Linked DNA regions of Homo sapiens: region 2 is linked to region 1. The links are contacts of gene promoters, found by promoter capture Hi-C in human tissues and cell types (Jung and others, 2019). All regions are on one chromosome and are shown on one strand. The core of a region is centred on a gene start or on the middle of the fragment in contact, and the rest is flanking DNA. Distances in the headings are between cores, read along the strand shown.

Region 1 (2,700 bases), core at 120-2,619:
TGATGGGAACCAAGGGCTGGGGATACAATTGCCGGACACCCCCACCCGGGATGCCATCGGAGGGAGAATCCAGTGGGAGGGAGGCAGACAGGCCTGAGGCCGCCCACGCCTCCCTCCTCCTCCCTGTCCACCCCAGAATTTGGGCTCTGCCCAGATGGACACGTCCAAGCTCATTGTCTTGGGCCTGAGACCCCAACACATTGCTAAGAGGCTCGGCCAGTTTCAACTTGAGCCCAAGGTGGAGGCGGGGGAGGGGGAGGGCAGAGAAATGGAGGAGAGAATGCTGATCCACGCGGAGGTGGTGGGGCCAGGGGGTGGGCAGCGACGGGAGCCTCTCCGCCACCCGAGGCAGGCGAGGCGGGCGCGTCCCCCCGAGCCGGGCGCCCCCAACCCGTCTTCCTTTGTAGTTACCGATTAGCCTGGGGTCCTGGGCATCCGTGTCCCCCGCGGCCGGACCTGCCCCGCCGGCCTGGCTTTGTGAAAATAACCAAAGCAATGGAGTCCGCAGGTGCAAACTTCCCCGACGGGGCCTGGGGAGGCTGAATGAATGGGGGTGGGGGGGCAGGGAGGGGTGCCGGCGTTCCCGAGGCTCCCCTGGCAAACGGGCAGGAAAGAGTGGGGTGAGGGAGGGAGGAAGGGGTGGGGGTCTGGGGGATGGAAGGGTGAGGGAGGGAGGGAGGGAGAGAGAGGGTGCTGTGGGGGGAAGGATGAGAGGTCGAGGGAGATGGGAGAGAAGAGAAAGGGAGAGAGAGAGGGAGAGAGAGAGGGAGAGAGAGAGGAGATGCCGGAAGGTGGGGAGGGAGGGAGAGGGGGCGGAGGAGGGGAGGGGGCCCGCTCGGATCTGTCAGCTGCACCCCCAGAGAGGGGAGGAGGGGTGGGTGGGAGGGAGGGGGTAAGAACCGATGCTCCGGCAGAGGCAGGCAGAGGAGGGAGGTGAGCAGAGGAGGGATGGTGATGGGGGAGAGAAGATGCCGGAAGGTGGGGTGGGAGGCGGAGGGAGGGGGAGAGGGGGGAGGGGGCCGGGCGCCCACCTTTGTGCATCCCCGTGTAGGGGTCTTTGAGCACCGTGAGCTCGTAGATGCGGCCGAACTGCTCGAAGAGCGGCTTGAGGTCCTTCTCGTCCAGGTGCCGCGGGATCTGGCCCACGAAGAGTTTGATGGCGTCCAGGTCCTTCATGCCGTCGGGCTGCCCCCCGGGGGGCTCGGGCCCGCTGCTGCCCACGGGCGAGGGCCGCGGCTGCAGGAGCTGCTGCTGCTGCCGGCGCGCCTCGCTCTCCGTCAGGCGGGCCATGGCGGGCGCGGGACCGAGCCGGCGGCGGCGGCGGCGGGCGGCGGGCGGACTCGCAGCTGGAGCGGCGGCCGCGCCTCCCGCCTCCCTCCCGGGCCCCCGCGCCCTCCTCCCGCCCGCGCCCGCCCCGGCATCGGGACCACAAAGGCGGCTCCGCAGCGGCCCCTGGCGGCCGCGCCGCGCGGGGCAGCCGGCGCCTCCCCGCATCCCCGGGCCGCGGGGGGAAACTGAGGCCGGAAGGCCCCGGGCCCCGCCTACGGGTGGGCGAGGGCGGAGCTGCGGGCGGGACGGGCCTTAGCCGGCTTCCCAGGGGTCCCCGCCGGCTCCCGCGGAGGGCATCGGCCGGAAGAATGTCAAAAGTTGCTGGGATAATGTAGGGGGCTTGTCGTTGAAAGCGCCCGTGATCCTTAAAGTAGGTAACTCATCAATAATATTAATAACACTAATAATATGGCTGGGCGCGGTGGCTCACGCCTGTCATCTCAGCACTTTGGGAGGCCGAGGTGGGTGGATCACTTGAGGTCAGGAGTTCGAGACCAGACTGGCTAACACGGTGAAACCCCGTCTCTACTAAAGAATACAAAAATTAGCTGGGCTCGGTGGCGGGGGGTGCCTGTAATCCCAGCTACTCGGGAGGCTGAGGCAGGATAATCACTTGAACCCAGGAGGCGGAGGTTGCAGTGAGCCAAGATTGTGCCATTGTACTCCAGCCTGGGCAACAAGAGCAAAACTCCGTCTTGGTAAAAAAAAAAAAAAAAAACACCTAATAATAACAACACTAATAATAATTAATCAAGAGCAAGACAAAGTGCTCCCACTAATCACGACAGCACAGGAGAAATGGTAAAAGTATCTTCCAGTTCTATAGGGTGCTTACACATAGAAAGTGTCCTTGGCCCTTTAAGTATGTAACTCATCAATAATGTCATCAACAAGGAGGGAGACTGGCTCGCACTGATAATGACAGGATAGGAGAAATACTGAAGTATCTCCCAGCTCTAAAGTGCCCGTGATCCTTTACGTATGAAACTCATCAATAATATTAATAAAAATAATAATACGTGCTGGCCGTGGTGGCTCACACCTGTAATCCCAGCACTTTGAGAAGCAGAGTCAGGAGGACCACTTGAGCCCAGGAGTTGGAGACCAGCCTGAGCAACATAGTGAGACGCCATTGCTGTAAAAAATAAGAAAACAGGCCAGGCACGATGGCTCACACCTGTAATCCCAGCACTTTGGGAGGCTGAGGCAGGTGGATCACCTGAGATCAGGAGTTCGAGACCAGCCTGATCAACATGGAGAAAACTCTGTCTCTACTAAAAACACAAAAATTAGCCAGGCATGGTTGTGCATGCCTGTAATCCCAGCTACTCAGGAGGCTGAGGCAGGAAAATCGCTTGAACCCGGGAGGCG
Region 2 (2,783 bases), core at 14-2,513, 1.1 Mb before region 1:
GCGCAATCATGGCTTACTGCAGCCTCCAACTCCTGGGCTCAAGCGGTTCTCCTGCCTCAGCCTCCCGAGTGGCTGGGACTATAGGCATGCACCATCACCCTGGGTTGGTTTTGTATCTTTTTTTTTTTTTTTGAGACACAGTCTCACTCTGTCGCCCAGGCTGGAGTGCAGTGGCAGGATCTCGGCTCCCTGTAATCTCCATCTCCCCAGTTCTGGCGATTCTCCTGCCTCAACCCCACTGAGTAGCTGGGACTACAGGCGCCCACCACTAGGCCCAGCTAATTTTTGTATTTTTAGTAGAGACCGGGTTTTGCCATGTTGGCTAGGCTGGTCTTGAACTCCTGACCTCAGGTGATCCACCCGCCTTGGCCTCCCAAAGTGCTGGGATTACAGGCCTGGGCCACCATGCCCAGCCTGTATCTTTTTTTTTTTTTTTTTTTTTTTAATAGAGATTGGATCTCGCTGTGTTACCCCAGGTTGATCTTAAACTCGGCTCAAGTGATCCTCCCACCTCAGCCTCACAAAGTGCTGGGATTACAGGTGTGAGCTACAGCGCCCAGCAAAAGAAAGACATTTTGGGAGCAAAATAATTGAGGCAGGGACCCTGTCATTTAACTCACTGCTCAGGCCTATGTCGCCTGCCCCTCCCCCACGGAGCCACCTGCTCTCGCACTGTGTCTTCCTGTACCTAGATGTGTTTATGTAGAGCCTTCCAGAAAGCTCACAGGGGTGGATTCCTCCCACTCACTTGCATACACTGCCTTTCTTTTCTTTTTTTCTGAGACGGAGTTTCACTCTTGTCGCCCAGGCTGGAGTGCAGTGGCGTGATCTTGGCTCACTGCAACCTCCGCCTCCCGGGTTTAAGCCATTCTCCTGCCTCAGCCTCCCAAGTAGCTGGGATTATAGGCGCCCATCACCATGTCCAGCTAATTTCTGTATTTTTAGTAGAAATTAGTAGGGGTTTCATCATGTTGGCCAAGCTGGTCTCGAACTCCTGACCTCAGGTGATCCACCTGCCTCGGCCTCCCAAAGTGCTGGGATTACAGACATGAGCCATGTTGCCTGGTCCGTACACTGCCTTTCAGATAGAAAATGCATTGGGGAAACTGAGGCACGAGGTGGCAGGAAGTGGAGCCCCCAGCAGGCTGGAACACCGGACGTCTGTTGTCTGGCCCTGGGTGTTGCATCTGCTTCTGCAGCGGGAGGCGGAGATTGTGGCAGGAAGTCTGTCAACTGGGAGGGGGAGAGGGGGGTGATGGGCCAGGAATGGGGTCCCCGGGCATGGTGCTGGGCCTCCTGGTGCAGATCTGGGGTGAGTATCTGGGCCTCCCTCCCCTCTGAACCCCACTCTTGCTGTCATCCCCAGCTGCCTGCCCCCCAGCTCAGGGCCCCTCTAAACTTCAGTCTCTCTACTGTCAGATAAGGCCCATCTCCCTCCGAGACTCAGAACGTGATGGGGGCTGGAGGATTAAGGAAGGATCCTCTGAGGGCCCCTAGGATACAATCTAAACCTTGCCCTACATACCAGCCTGGCCTGGCCTCTCTCATCTCCACCCTCCGCAGTGCCTTTGCTCCCTCCCTCTTGCTCTAGCCTGGGGACTTTTCTTTCTCTGTTTCCGCAATGGGAAGGCTGGATCTGGCCTTCGAGCCTTTGCACCTGCTGTTCCAGCTGCCTAATACCCTTCTCCAGATCTCATGTCTCTACCCTCCTCTGCAATTGCATCTCAAATGCCAGGAACTTCACATAACCTCAACTTCTCCGGGGGTCTAACAGACACGTCAGACTTCTCACAGCTAAAAGCAGACTTTCTACTCCGGCAGCAGCTCCCTCTGTGTTTCCAATTAAGGACAAAGGCTGCTGCCCTTCACACATTTCCTGGGGCGAAAACCTCCATTCCTCTTTCCCTCTCCTCTGATTCCAGCCGCTTGCACTTTTTTGTTGTTCATTTGTGTTTTTTTGTTTGTTTGTTTTGTTTTGTTTTGAGAAGGAGTCTTGCTCTGTCACCCAGGCTAGAGTGCAGTGACGCGATCTCGGTTGACTGCAACCTCTGCCTCCCAGGTTCAAGAGATTCTCCTGCCTCAGGCTCCCGAGTAGCTGGGACTGCAGGCGCGCGCCACTGCGCCTGGCTAATTTTTTTTGTATTTTTAGTAGAGACGGGGTTTCGCCATCTCGGCCAGGTGGGTCTCGAACTCCTGACCTCATGATCCACCCACCTTGGCCTCCCAAAGTGCTGGGATTACAGGCGTGAGCCACCGTGCCCAGTCATTTTTGTTTTTTAGAGATGGGTCTCACTATGTTGCCCAGGCTGGTCTTGAACTCCTGGCCTCAAGCAATCACCCAGTCTTGGCCACCCAAAGGGCTGGGATAACAGGCATGAGCCACCACACCCAACCAAGGTCTTTTTATTAAAACTTAAATTGGAGACTGAGGCAGGTGGATCACTTGAGGTCAGGAGTTCCAGACCAGCCTGGCCATGTTGGTGAAACCCCATCTCTACCAAAAATACAAAAATTAGCTGGGCGTGGTAGCGAGTGCCTGTAGTCCCAGCTACTCAAGAGGCTGAGCCACAAGAATCACTTGAACCTGGGAGGCAGAGGTTGCAATGAGCCGAGATCACACCACTGCACTCCCACCTGGGCAACAGAGTGAGACCCCATCTCAAAACAAAAACAAAAACAAAAACAAAAACTTCAATTGGACTATTTCTTCCCTGCTTTCTGATTTTCCATCACACTTACATTAAAACATAAACTGCTTAACTTCCTTCACCTCCCCACACCAC

What was found. The method cuts DNA at HindIII sites, captures the fragments that hold promoters and counts their contacts. A contact is called where the count stands out against the background at its distance.
Region 2: a contact is called between the fragment with the promoter of TMIGD2 here and the fragment with the promoter of CELF5 in region 1, in 1 of the 25 tissues and cell types used here (spleen).

What each region holds. Positions count from the first base shown.
Region 1 is chr19:3,223,330-3,226,029 of GRCh38, reverse strand. It overlaps CELF5 (CUGBP Elav-like family member 5), which reads right to left and starts at 1,369. Exons shown (of 13, transcript NM_021938.4): 1 at 1,032-1,369. The coding sequence starts at 1,290. RefSeq lists a silencer at 1,429-1,548. The HindIII fragment of the contact is 19,492 bases long and covers 1-2,700 here.
Region 2 is chr19:4,300,869-4,303,651 of GRCh38, reverse strand. It overlaps TMIGD2 (transmembrane and immunoglobulin domain containing 2), which reads left to right and starts at 1,263. Exons shown (of 5, transcript NM_001169126.2): 1 at 1,263-1,312. The coding sequence starts at 1,267. RefSeq lists an enhancer at 1,257-1,802. The HindIII fragment of the contact is 29,023 bases long and covers 1-2,783 here.